Linked DNA regions of Homo sapiens: region 1 is linked to region 2. The links are contacts of gene promoters, found by promoter capture Hi-C in blood cells and fetal thymus (Javierre and others, 2016). All regions are on one chromosome and are shown on one strand. Each heading gives the region's core, a stretch centred on a gene start or on the middle of the fragment in contact. The rest is flanking DNA. Distances are from core to core; before and after follow the strand shown.

The links. Contacts are between HindIII fragments. The CHiCAGO score rates a contact against its expected background, and 5 or more counts as called.
Region 1: a contact is called between a fragment that was not itself captured here and the fragment with the promoter of KCNJ12 in region 2, in 1 of 17 cell types (M0 macrophages). The highest score is 5.4, in M0 macrophages.

What each region holds. Positions count from the first base shown.
Region 1 is chr17:21,127,618-21,134,436 of GRCh38, forward strand. All of the region lies in intron 1 of DHRS7B (dehydrogenase/reductase 7B), which reads left to right. Among named protein-coding and RNA genes, the nearest start is that of DHRS7B, 4.1 kb to the left of the region's middle. The HindIII fragment of the contact is 1,899 bases long and covers 3,309-5,207 here.
Region 2 is chr17:21,373,193-21,380,036 of GRCh38, forward strand. KCNJ12 (potassium inwardly rectifying channel subfamily J member 12) reads left to right here and starts at 3,165. Exons shown (of 3, transcript NM_021012.5): 1 at 3,165-3,721. RefSeq lists enhancers at 1-152, 153-888. The HindIII fragment of the contact is 5,395 bases long and covers 2,715-6,844 here.

The DNA of each region.
Region 1 (6,819 bases), core at 3,008-5,507, 240 kb before region 2:
TAACAAGCCCACTCATAAGGTTGTTGTGAAGCGTAAATGAGACTGCGCGTGCAAGGTGCTCAGCTGGTGTCTGGCACATAGTAGGTATTCAACAAATGGTAGCCACATAATGCTCTTTTTTTCAGTTTCCAAACCTTCCATGTAGTGATTGGAGAATCGTGAAGTTACTTTTGAAGTAACGTTTGGGTTTCACACACTCATACATTTAGTAAGCAGAATTCTTGCTTACACTGTTGCCGATTGCAACGGTGTGTTTGCATAATGGAAGCTATGTTTGTGCCTTTGCCAAGGGTGTGGAATATGCCTTCCCTACCATGTACATGTCCCCTTTTCTCCATTCCTTAATAATAGTTGATATTTTTTGAGTGTTTGCTATGTTACAGGCACTGTACTAATCCCTTTACTGAATTATTCAATCCTGTAATAACCCTAATCATAGGAACTATAATTTTTATTTATGGAGGGAGAAATGGGCTTAGAGATGTTAAGAAGTTTATCCAAAGGCATAGAGCTATTAGCCAGGCAAGGTAGCACACGCCTGTAGTCCCAGCTATTTGTTGGGGCTGAGGCAAGTGGATTGCTTGAACCTGGGAGACAGGCTGCAGTGAGCCGAGATCACGCCATTGCATTCAAGTCTGGGTGACAAAGTGAGACCCTGTCTTGGCTGGGCGCAGTGGCTCACACATGTAATCCCAGCACTTTAGGAGGCTGAGGCGGGCGGATCACCTGAGGTCAGGAGTTCGAGACCAGCCTGGCCAACGTGGTGAAACCCCGTCTCTACTAAAAAATACAAAAATTGGCTGGGCGCGGTGGCTCACGCCTGTATTTCCAGCACTTTGGGAGGCCAAGGCGGGCGGATCACGAGGTCAGGACCTCGAGACCATCCTGGCTAACACGGTGAAACCCCGTCTCTACTAAAAAAATTCAAAAAAATTGGCTGGGCTTGGTGGCGGGCGTCTGTAGTCCCAGCTACTAGGGAGGCTGAGGCAGGAGAATGGCGTGCTCCGGATGGCGGAGCTTGCAGTGAGCCGAGATCCCGCCGCTGCACTCCAGCCTGGGCGACATAGTGAGACTCTGTCTCAAAACAAACAAACAAACAAAAATTAGCCGGGCGTGGTGGTGGGCGCCTGTAATCCCAGCTACTCGGGAGGCTTTGGCAGGAGAATCGCTTGAACCTGGGAGGCAGAGGTTGCAGTGAGCCGAGATGCCGCCACTGCATTCCAGCCTGGGCGACAAGAGCGAGGAGACTCCGTCTTAAAAAAAAAAAAAAAAAAAAAGTGACACCCTGTCTCAAACAACAACAACAACAACAACAAACAACAACAAAGGCATAGAGCTAGTAAAGGCCGATCCAATGCCATGTCACTCCAGAACCTAGCGCTTAGCTACAAATTTCATTCATTCCTTCAGATACTTATTGAACGTTTACAGTGTACCAGCATTGTGCTGGGTGTTGTGGATACAATGATGATCAAAACAGATAAAGCCCCTGTCTTTAAATTGCTTATAAATCTAGCAAGGGAGATAGTAAATATATAAATAAAACTAAATATTAATTACGATTGTGATGCATGCTGTGGAGGACAGTAGAGGGTGCTGTGAGGATACATAATGGAGTCACCGGCATGCGGAGGGGGAAATGAGGAGAGACAGGGAAGGCTTTCCCAAGAAAATAATATTTAGCTGAGACTTAAAGGACTGAGTTGGAGTTAAATTGGACAAAGAGCTAACAGGAGGAGGGAAGGGCATGTGTGAGGTCTTGAGACTAGGAGGAGCTTGTATCTTGTTACTTAAAGACCCCTGTGAGGCTGTAGGTGGTGGCTCACACCTATAATCCGAGCGCTTTGGGAGGCTGAGGTGGGAGGATCATGTGAGGCCAGGAGTTTGAGACTAGCCTGGGCAACATAGGGAGACCCCATTTCTACAAAAAATAAAAAATTATCTAGGCGTGCTGGTGTGTACCTGTTGTCCCAGTTACTCAGAAGGCTGAGTCAGGAGGATCACTTGAGCCCAGGAGTTTGCGGCTACAGTAAACTGTGATAATACTACGGCACTCCAGCCTGGGCAGCAGAGTAAGACCCTGACTCAAAAAAAAAAAAAAAAAAAAGAAAAAGAAAAAAATAAGCATTAAACCAGACTGGAATGTATTATGGATAATATGCTAATGCAGTTTCTTTCAGAAAAGAAATCCCACCACTTATTTGTATGCAGCTGAGCAGATACAACCCATTATGTAGTCTCAAGATTAATGGTAATTTGTCCTCTTATAAGAAGACTTGACAGCACCATTTGCTGTACATGTTTTCATAGTTCATTCTAAATTCACCTGGTAATTGGGTTGGTCATCTGTGCTACCTAGTTACTTTTTTCCAAAGGAAAACATGAAACAGCTCTATGATAAAACAAGTAGTTGAGGTGCCTAGGCTAAACTTCCACAGTGATAGGGATAGGGCTGGGGCATTGTCTTCCTGGATATTTCCATTTAAAATAGGGGGTTTGGCTGAGCACGGTGGCTCACGCCTGTAATCCCAGTACTTTGGGAGGCTGAGGAGGGCAGATCACCTGAGGTCAGGAGTTCGAGACCAGCCTGGCCAACATGGCGAACCCCGTCTCTATTAAAAATACAAAAATGTGTGGTGGCGTGTGCCTGTAATCCCAGCTACTCAGGAGGCTGAGGCAGGAGAATCGCTTGAACTGGGAAGCAGAGGTTGCAATGAGTCGAGATTGTGTCACTGTACTCCAGCCTGGGCTACAGAGTGAGACTCCACCTCAAAAAATAAATAAATAAATAAATAAATAAACTTACGTATGTATGTACGTACGTTTGTAAAGGGGGGGTTCCAGGCCCTTCAGAAAAACAGTCCTGGGTTTTACTGTATTTACTGGGTTTAAACAAGCTAAGCTAGGGGTAGTTTATTTAGCCTTTAAAAAGATTTGCATACATATCAAAGGGACAGAGGAATAATTTATAAATACTGGGTTTTTCAAAGAAATGCTGTGAGGAAAAGGAAGGAGAGAAGATCTCTTTCCCTTTGGAAACAGTGAAAATTCAGTTTTAAAATTTTTACTATATGTTTGCATGACAACTAAAAAAAAAATTTACTTACAGTACAGTAAAATGTTGGACTAGAGCAACATCCATAATGTTGGATGGTGTAGGAATTATTCATTCCCACCCCATTATACACATAAGAAACCTTTCTTTGGTAGCCAATGTTATTTTAATGCAAAAATGAACTCTCTATTCTGGAAGGCCATAAGCATGAGGGTGAAAATTGGGATTGAATGGTGTGTAAATTCAGTTTGAAAGCTTCTTGCCACCCACCCAGATAGGAAATACAACAAATTCCTTAGGATTTTACCTGAGCTCTCCCTCCTATCTTCTAAAGTTCCCAGTAACATGAGGCTTGGCCATTTAAACTGCTTAGTGGAGGGAGAGGTCTGTGATGGCCACTGAATTTGCTACTGGAGAAGAGTCTTGATCCAGACCTCAAGAGAGGGTTCTTGGATCTTGTGTAAGAAATAATTTGAGGCCAATCCATAGAGAAAAGTGAAAGCAAGTTTATTAGAAAAGTAAAGAAACAAGAGAATGGCTACTCCATAGGCAAAGCAGCCCTGAGGGCTGCTGGCTGGCCACTTTTATGGTCATTTCCTGATTATATGCTAAAGAAGGGGTGGATTATTCATGAATTTTCTAGGAAAGGGGTGGGTAATTCCCGGAACTGAGAGTTCCTCCCCTTCGTAGACTATATAGGGTAACTTCTTGACATTGCCATGGCATTTGTAAACTGTTATGGTGCTGGTAGGAGTGTCTTTTAGCGAGCTAATGCCTTATAATTAGCATATAATGAGCAGTGAGGATGACCAGAGGTCACTTTCATTGCCATTTTCCATTTGGTGGGTTTTGGCCGGCTTCTTTACCTCAGCCTGCTTTATCAGCAAGGTCTTTCTGACCTGTATCTTATGTGACCTCCTATCTCATCTTGTGATTTAGAATGCCTAACCTGCGAATGCAGCCCAGTAGGTCTCAGCCTTATTTTACCCAGCCTCTATTCAAAATAGAGTTGCTCTGGTTCAGATGACTGATAAATTGATTGAATATTGCTTACCAGTGGTTTGAGCTTCCTTGCTGTACTTAGCTAGTGTTTTATTAAGTAAGGCTATGTTTGTACTAGGAACACTAATTTCTGAAGGGGATATAAATTTTTCCAGTTTATATGAGCAGCACTTAGTGGTCATTAAATTGGATACTACTACATTAAGAAACTACCATTGCAGAATTCTCTATGAGTATGGCATTATAATCCAGATTGGTTTAAAATGTTAGCTAAACTGAATCAAAGAAACTGTACTGAGTTCCTATTAAGCAGCTAACTTGTTTATGTTCAATTGTTGCTTAGAAGCCTTTGTATTCTGTTTGAGTTGTTAAAACTTCAGACAAACTAAATTCAACAGAGTTTAACTGAACAAAGAATGATTTGCAGATCAGCAGCCTCTGGAACTAGAATAGGTTCAGAGTGACTCTGGGGTAGCTACATGGTTGGATAGTATTTGTGGACAGAAACAGCAAAGTGACATACAGAAAATGGAAGTGAGGTACAGGCCAGGCCCAGTGGCTTACACCTATAATCCCAGCACTTTAGGAGGCCAAGGCAGGAGGATTGCTTGAGCCCAGGAGTTTGAGACCACCCTGGGCAACATAGGGAGACCCCATCTCTTAAAAAAAAAAAAATATATATATATATAGATAGATAGATAGATAGAGATATGCAGGTGTACCACTCATGCCTGTGGTCCTAGCTACTCAGGAGACTGAGGTGGGAGGATCGCTTGAACCTGGGAGGTTGAGGCTGCAGTGAGCTATGATCACACCACTGCACCCCAGCCTAGGTGGCAGAGGGAGACCTTGTCTCAAAAAAAAAAAAAAAAAAACAAAAAAAAAACAGGGAAGTGAGGTGTAGAAAGAGCTAGATTGGTTGCAGCCTAGTGTTTGCCTTATTTGAGCAGTTGGCTGCCTATGACTGGCTGAAACTGGGCTGCTGTGATTGGCTGAGACTGGGCTACTTGTTACAAGAGTAGGTTAAAGTTTGTTTGCACATCCAGTTAGGTTACAGGTCACTAGCTATGGAGGAACATTTAGGCTAAACTTAAAATATGTAAGGAGGCAGCTTTAGGCTAAACTTCTTATAACAAGGTGATTAGAGCTAAGCTTAGGGATCTCTTCATCTCTTAGACAGTATTAGAATCCTTCCTGTTTAAAGTTCCAGCTAAAGGATTTTTTTTTTTACATGACCCCCTATTTGATGCACTTAAGAGTTAAGAATGTGGGCTTCAGAGTCTGAGTACGTTGGTTGAAATCTCTTTTCCACCATTTGCTAGCCATGTGACTTCACGTACTTTTCTTATTTAGCAAATGAAAATAACTGTCATACCTACCTCCGGATTGCTGTGAGGATGAAATGAGATCATGGGTATGGAGAATGTGTATTTCAGTGTCTGGCACATTGCAAATACTTAAAAAAGTTAGTAATTGTTATTAATATTTTTCCTTTTCAATAGCCATGTATGGTACTGTGAACCCAGAAAATCTGAGACAGGTCTTAGTTAATTCAGAGAGTTTATTTTGCCAAGGTTGAGGATGTGCCCATGACACAGCCTCAGGAGGTCCTGATGACATGTGCCCAGGGTGGTCAGGGCACAACTTGATTTTATACATTTTAGGGAGACATGAGACATCAATCAATATATGTAAGAAGTACTTTAATTCCATCTAGAAAGGCAGGACCACTCAAAGTGGGGCCCCCCTTCAGGGGCTTCCAGGTCACAGATAGGTGAGAGACAAATGGTTGCATTCTTTTGAGTTTCTGATGAGACTTCCAAAGGAGGCAATCGGAATATGCATCTATCTCTGTGAGCAGAGGGATGACTTTGAATAGAATGGGAGGCAGGTTTGCCCTGAACAGTTCCCAGCTAGAAGGAGCCCAAGATATTTTCCTTTCACATTTCCCCACTTTTCTTTTTTAAAATCATTTGGAGAAAGCATTTTAGAAGAAAATGAATCTCTGGTCTCAAGTTTCATCTGATCTCTCATGGTTAGGATGGTTTATTCCTAGTTAGTTAGGTCCTGAAAGCTCATTCTTAGCAGGTTGTGAAGTCTCATGTCCTGTGAAGAGAAAATGGGGGGAGGAAGGGAGAAAAACAACAACAAACAAAAGAACAATCCTGGAAAAATCGATATTGGCCACATTACTCTGAAGTCCACACATTAGTAGGCAGGTATGAAAGTGGCTTATGTATGTAAATAGGTTGCTATTATTTTCTTCTGAAGTGTAAGTTGTCTGGCTTCAGTTTGCAGGGCTTTAAGAAAGCACAGCTTAGTTTTCAGTGACTCCAAATTAGGAAAAATGGAAAAAAAAAAGGAAAAAAACTGAAAACATTATTTTGAAGACTTATAGCCAAGAAAAATTAGAATTCAGTTCAAACTGTAGAAAATAATAAAAATTGGAAAAACATTAGGCAAGACTAGACTCCAACAACAGGTTTACTATAGTTTTGAAACATAATTTTTCTCTCTCTGGTTTCCCAATTTTGCCAAAGACAAGTCACGCTAGGACTGGTTTGCTTTATTATACTTGACCTAATTATTTGTATACAGTGCAGCAAGAATAATTTTTTTTTACATACACTTTTAAATTGCTTTGATGGAACTTGTTCCATAGGAGGAATCTCAGATAAGACTTTCTAAAGCTGAGCCATGATTTGTGTCATCAAATACCTATGAGCTGGGTGAATTTCCTCACCTCTTTAGGTTCCAAGATA
Region 2 (6,844 bases), core at 1,915-4,414:
CATCTCACTCGGTGATGGACTTATGCCTCCCACAAGCGCATCGGCATTGTGGCATCAAGATGTGATTACCACAAGAGCTGGCAGCTGCTGTCGAGAGGCTGCAGCTCTGGGGCTCCTACACACAGGGCAGCGAAACCAGCCTTCGGGACACCTGCCCTGGACAGCTCAGTGGTCATCGTAGCAACCTTCCCTCTCTGGGCCTTGCTTTCCTCAAAACAAAGCCATGATTCCAAATGAGCCGAGGAGCTCTTCTGTCTCCTGGGCCTGTGGCTCCAGGGACACTCAGATATGCAAAGGCGTCTTGAACAGCCAACACGCCCACCCAAAGCTGGGAGAGACTGGGCTGCAAACAAGCCTCAGTCTCACCCCTGTCTTGGAGAAGCTCCCATCCTGGAGGGGAAGAAAGAATCTGGGATCAAGGGAAAGCCAGGTGCAGGGCACAAAATTCAGGGTGTTGGGAAGGTGTGTGCGTGGTGGGACAGCTGACTGCTGTTCATCTCCCTGGCTTCTCCCATGGCTGTGCCAGGAAAGTTACTACTCTCATGGCCTCGGCTGTCACGATCACCCCCATTTTACAGAGAGGGAAGTGGGGCCTTAGCAGGGGACGTGTCCCAGGTCTCCTGCTGGGCAGCGTTGGTACTGGGCTCAGTCCATTTGGCCTCACCCAGCCACTCTCGACACTGCCCCCTCCACACTGTAGGGGCAGGATGTCCTCTGCTCAGGCTTCACGCAGCACCCCGGGAGGGCCGTGAGCCCCTCTGCCCACGTGGGGATCCCTGGGGCAGATGTGTGAGCTGCTTAGGGAGAGATCTGCCCACATCCCTGCCTCTTTGTGTCCCAGCCCCTCCTGGAGGGAGGCTGGTGCCCAGTGGCGTGGCAGAGGGGATTTGCTTTGAGGGGCCCTTAATGGCTGCTCATGGGTTGCAATTACAATTAAGAATTGAACTCTGACCCTGCACGTGGGTTGGGAGGGTGGGACGTGGAGCCCAAGGGAGTGGCCCAGGGAGTCAGGCTTGCGTCTCTGCTGGGTGACCTTGGGCAAGACGCTTGCCCTCTTTGTGAAATGGGTCTGATAATGGCTCTGGGAGTGGGGATAGGGAGGGGCGGAGACCTGGCCTGACTCACAGTAGTCATCTTGGGTGTCGAGCCCCTGGGCAGGGGCCCTGTGTGTGTGTGTGTGGGAAGGGGGGGGTGGTGTTCCAGGCGTGAGGATGCCCTGGGCACAGCCACTTGTCCCAGGAGCTGTCAGAATCTTAGACCCAGAGGAGCCCTGAGGTGTTCCCGTCCATTCCCTTGCCCCTTTCTAGGCCACCAGAGTAAGGCCTCGAGGGAGGGATGTCTCAGGCCCCATTCCTCTTGGGACAGCTGAGTGGTCTCTGAGGGTGGGAGCTGGTTTGAGGCTTCTTCCGCAGCTGGCTTGGGCTTCCCCATCTGGGAAATGGAGCAGGGGCAGGTGGGGAGCTGAGTCATTTCCCTCCTTGGTCACTCGGAGGGAGAAGAAGGAAGTTTCCTGAGAGCTTTTGGTCCCCTGGGAGGCTGTTTCTCCCAGGAGGAGGAGGAAACCAGGACACAGTGTGCCAGGCAGGGCAGGGTGGGGGCTGCAGACTTCTGCGATGCCCCTTCTTTCTCCACTGCAGCCCTAAGTTGAGGACACACCTGATTCTGCGTACTGGCTCCACCATCTGGTAGTTCTGTAATTAAGCAAGTGACCACCCCTCTGTGCCTCAGTTCCTTCATCTGTAAAATGGAGCCAATGAGCTTATCCACCACAGATGGCCGCAGTGGTAATGAAATAATTCTAGCTGGGTCCATAGCACAGAGCTCAGAACATATTGAGTGCTCCGCCTGGCTGTTTTACCAGCCAAGTCAAGTGCTAAGCACTTTAGGTAGACTCATCTCATTTAATCCTTGCTACAGCCCCATGAGTGTAGTGATTTCTACTGACAACAGGGAAACAGAGGCACTGAGTGGTGAAGTGACCTGTCCCACAGCTAGTCAGTTGAGGTGGGATTCAAACCCAGGGCAGACTGATGTCGGTGAGTGCTGGGCTGGATTTCACCCACCAGCTGCCTGGGGCCAGGATCCTAGGGCTGGTGGGGCCTGCAGATCACTCTGCTCTGAGCCGCCAGCAATCTGGGTGCGGGCCAGAGAGCCGTCCTCCTCGGTTAGAATCCTGCAGCCAGTCTCCCTGCTGTGCAGACACATAATTATATTTCACATTAAAGGGGAAGCTGGAGGCCAAGGGGGCCAAGGAGCCCTTTGAGGCTCATGCTCTGGGCACAGACTGGCCTCCTCGGCCCAATTCTGAGGCCCTAGGGCCGAGCTGGGGGTCAGACTGGTGACAAAATGGAGTTCCCCTGGGTCAGTGTCCAGGCGAGCAGGTCTGTCTGCCAGGATGAAAGACTTGGCCCCTGCGGGAGGCTCAGAGATATGAGGCCCAGACAATAGGCCTCAGAAAGCTGGGAGGGCAGGGCATTTGGGGACAGGTTGGGAAGAAAGCCTGAGCCTCCAGAGACAGGGGCTCGAAAGAGAAGGGGGTCACATGGGGATCCGGTCGGCAGAGAGAGGTCCAGGGAGGAGCACAGAGAAGGCAGGAGATGGGAGAAGCCAAGCAGCTCAAGATGGAGAGGAGAAAAATGCTATTAGGGTGGGATGGTGTGTGTAGAGGGTGCGTGCCTGGTGTGCAGGGGAAAAGGGCTCTGTGGGAATGCACAAGCTTAGACCTGTGTGTGCGTATGCACACGTGCAGATGCCATCCTGCATGTGCACATATGAGCGAGTGTGCACATGTGCCCCTGCGAACATCATGCATGTGGGGGCATGTATCCTGCATGTTTATGCCTGTGTGTGTGCTCGCCATGCACCTGTGCGTGCGCGCGTGTCCCCGGCGGACGTGCCTGCATGTGTGTGTATGTGTGTGTGCGCGCATGTCCCCGGGAAGTCGTGCCTGTGTGTGTGTGTGTGTGTGTGTGTGTGTGTGTGTATATATATATGTGTGTGTGCGCGCGCGCGTCCCAGTGCGCAAGTGGCTGGCGGTGTGTGTGTAGGGGGCGGCCCGGGACTAGGAGGGGCTCGGGGCCAGGCCGGAGCCGTGGTAGGCTGGTGCAGCGGCTGCGCGGCGCGGCGCGGCGCGGGGCGGGCGTGCTCTCCGCGGAGAGTTAGAGGAGTTGCCGAGCTGAGCTCCGGTGGAGCGAGGCGCGGAGCTGGGTGCGCGCCGAGCCTCTGCCTCCCGCCGCCTCCTCGCCCTCCATTCCTCGCTCCCCGTCTTCTCCCGGCCACACCGCCACTGCTGCCGCCTCCCTGGGAACAGTAGCCGGGGGAGGGGGACTGGCGCGGTCAGAGCCTGCGAGGAGGTGCGGGGCGCCGGGGCGTAGGGGAGCGCGCCGGGCCCTGCCCGAGATCAGATAACAGCCGGCGGGGGAGGGGGTGGGCCGGCCGTGCTCACAGCCGGACCGAGGGACCGACGCCAGCCGCCCCGGCCCAAGCGAGCGCCCAGCGGCCGGGGGCGCCGTCCAGGCGCGCGCCCCCGACCCGTGGCTGGACCAGGGCGATCCGCTTTGCAGAGAAGACGCGCCCCTCGGCATGGAGCGCCCCCGGGAGCTGCCCTGAGGCGGTGGCGGCAGCGGCGGCGATGCAGCCAGCGCGGCAGCTGCCGGGGCCAGGAACGGCCGCCCGGAGCTTGGAGGACGCCGAGCGCGCCGCGCCCGGGCCACTGACCGAGGTAAGTGCGCGGCCGCGGGCGCATGGTCCCTCCCGGGCCCGGCCCCAGTTCCCCGCAGGCCGCGCCTCGCCACTAGCCCGGCCCGGAGCTAGCACGAGGTTGTGCAGCAACAGGGAAGGTGGAGCGGGAGGGTGTTTTCTTCCTCTCGTTTTATTTTTTTCCCTCCCTTGGTGAGACATCGGAGGAAATGCTGACTGCGAGCTTTTCTTTTCCTGCCATGTCTCCGGCTACCACCACAAGGAACTTTGCTCCTGGCTAACCTTCGTCCTGGGGGGCGCTCCGGGAAACTTTGAGGAGCCCTCGGCCCCCCTCTGACTGGTTTGCACTAGGGGGCTCGGGAGGGAGCGTGCGGAAGCACTCTGGCGCGCGGCACGGGTCCTACGCGTGACCTTCCCGGAGACCCCGCGATCGAGGTGGGGTTCGGAGGTGGGCGCCCGGGCTATATGAGCCGCCCCGAGAATGCCTCCCGTCAGAGACCTGCGGGTTCTTGGAGTCGTGTCTCTTTCTCACCTCCCGTGCTGTAATGGAGTAAAAATATTCTGGAAATGATTCCATGCCAGCAAGTCAGCCAAGTCCAGAGGCTCCCTTTTGCTTTTAGAAGTCGGCCTTGATCTCCGAGGGGATGGCCGCTGGCTGAGAAGCTCCCAGGGTTTCAGGGCCAGGGTCCACCCTGCGCGCGCACGGCCTCTCCGGGTGCCCTGGGGGAGCGGGGCGGGAATCAGGGGCTCATGGGCAGAGACAGCTGGGGTGGGGCGCTCCTTGGGGGGTTCAGATGGGAGTTGAGGCCCAAGCGAGTGTCTGTGCCTCGGTTTTGATCCAGCGTGCCCATGTCATGTGAATATTTTAAAACCTGTGATCAGAATGGGGGTCAAAGTGTTTCTTTGGGGACGGTCTTGTTCTGGGAGGTTTTCCTGCCTCCTCACAGCCTGGACTCGCCCGCACCTGGGACCTCCCCCTCCCCATTTCCCAGGGGGCGTTCCCATCTTAGAGTACCGCGCTGCCTGTGGCCATTTCTAGTTTCTTTTTTGCTCCCCTATACCCAGGTTCGAGCCCTGCAATAAAGCGCTGGGGACCTCCTGGCTCCCACATCTGCGCCCCAAACCCAGGTTCACAGGCTCCGTCTCCGAGAGCGCCGAGGCGCCCACACGCCACTGAAATCGGCAGCCGCCTTTGGAAGGTGCGAACCCGGAAGGCGTTAGCCTTGGGCCTAGCCTTCGCCCCCTCTGAGATGCCAAAGGAGAGCCGGTCCCTGGCCGCGCGGCTGGACCCCAGCCTCCCTCGCGCTGCGCTGCACCTCCGCGGCCCCTCCTCGCGCAGCTCCGCCCTGGACCGCCGCCCTGTGGCGGGCGAGGGTCAGAGAGGGGAGGTCCATCTCAGCCCTGGGCGCCACCAGAGGCTTTCGCTCTTTTTGAGGGGTACTCCCTTCTGTATTCTGAGAAGAGCCCCTCAGTGTCTGCTGGGACCGCCCCCCCCAACAAAAGACTTCACAGCGAAGTCTGCCCCTCAGTTCTCTGGTGGCACCTCCAACCAGACAGGGGACCCGAGGTTGGCAGCTCTAGGAGGGGGACCCTGGGGGCCTGCCATTTGGTGGGGCCAAGCCGCCTGAGAGAGAGCAGGGAGTGAGGGCGGAGGGCACTCACTCGAGCACCCTGGAGACGAGGAGGGTGGCTCCAGTGTGCTGGGCCACAGGGACACCCCTCTTCTCCACTGGAGGGCCGCTGTAGGCATACAGTAGGCAGTCTGTAAATGCTGGCTGTTGACCCAGAGCTGGCAGGTAGGGGCTCCAAGTCCTCTATCACCTCCTTTTTCCCCTCCCAGGGGAGGGCATGGCTGACACCCCTCATCCCCAGCACTGAAGGGGGTGGAGCCTTCTCTGGGAGGGGCAGGACCTGAGCTGTCAGTCCATCTCTGGACACTCCCCCTGCAGCTACCCCGTCAAAACCCCATAAGGTTTCCAGGCTGCCCCGGAGGGGACCCCTCCAGGAATGTGCCTCAACTGTGCTGGAAGGAAGAGGTGCCTGGGAAGTGGTGGAGGGGTATTGCCTAAAACCATGCAGTGGGTTGGGTTTGGACAGATGCCTTCACCTAGCTCTTTCCAGGCCAGGCGCTTACCCCACCAGCCTTCCTGCCCCAGGGCCATGGTGTCCCCATCCCTGGGTCTCCTTGAAGCAGGACAAAGTAACACTGAGTGGCCCTGCAACAGCAAAATAATAATGACAGCAGTGATAACAGGAGTAACAGCAGCAGCAGCACCTGCAGCTCTGCAGCACTGGGGCCGGTTCTGCCTATGGGCAGTTTTCTCTGCCTAGCCAGGCCTCCGGTACCCTGGGCCACAGTTGGCAGTACCAAGCGTGGCACCCGGAGGCCTTGGCATATGGCTGGGGCGGAAGTGAGTGCATCATTACTGTCATCAACCTCTGTGGCCCTCGCCAGGTCCCCAGGCAGAAGGCTACTGGTACACACGGTGCCCACCCAGTGGCCACCCTCACCCCCCCTGCTCCCAGGCCCAGCTCTGGGCTGGGCCCTTCCTCCAACAGGTGCAGCTGGTGCCTGTGGCTGGGCCCTGGCCAGGGCTTTACTGTGAGCGACACATGGGTACACCTGCCCCTCCCCGGGCCTGCCCTTGGAGCCCTGCCACCGGCTAGCGTGGAGGAGAGTCAGGGAGGGGGCAGCTTGCGGGCAGCAGGAGGGGTGGAGGCTTGGCTGGCCACATGGAAGGTGCGGTGGGTGGGGGCTCAGCCCCACGGGATGGCTGTGCCGGGAACTGGCAGCGTGATGGGGACACGGCAGCAGGGAAAGGCTGAAGATGAAAGAGAGCTGGCCTGAAACTGGGCCGTGTGCAGGTTGGCCAGAGCTTCAGAGGCACCATGGGGTTGGGGGTGGGGGGGGGCCTGGCAGAGGCAGGTGGGTTTTCTGAGGTGCTGGGCTCGGGGCAGGACCAGAGCCCCCGCTGGGCACTGGCCAAGGACCCAGCCCTGGGTCAGCTGACTTAATTTCCTAATGGCCTGCCAGTGCAGAGGGTGGCATTAGCTCTATTGTGCAGACAGGGATTGGAGGCCCAGGGAGGCACTGGAGGCACCAGCCTGTGGGGCTCAGACCCAGAGCCCTGGTGCTTTCCCAGGG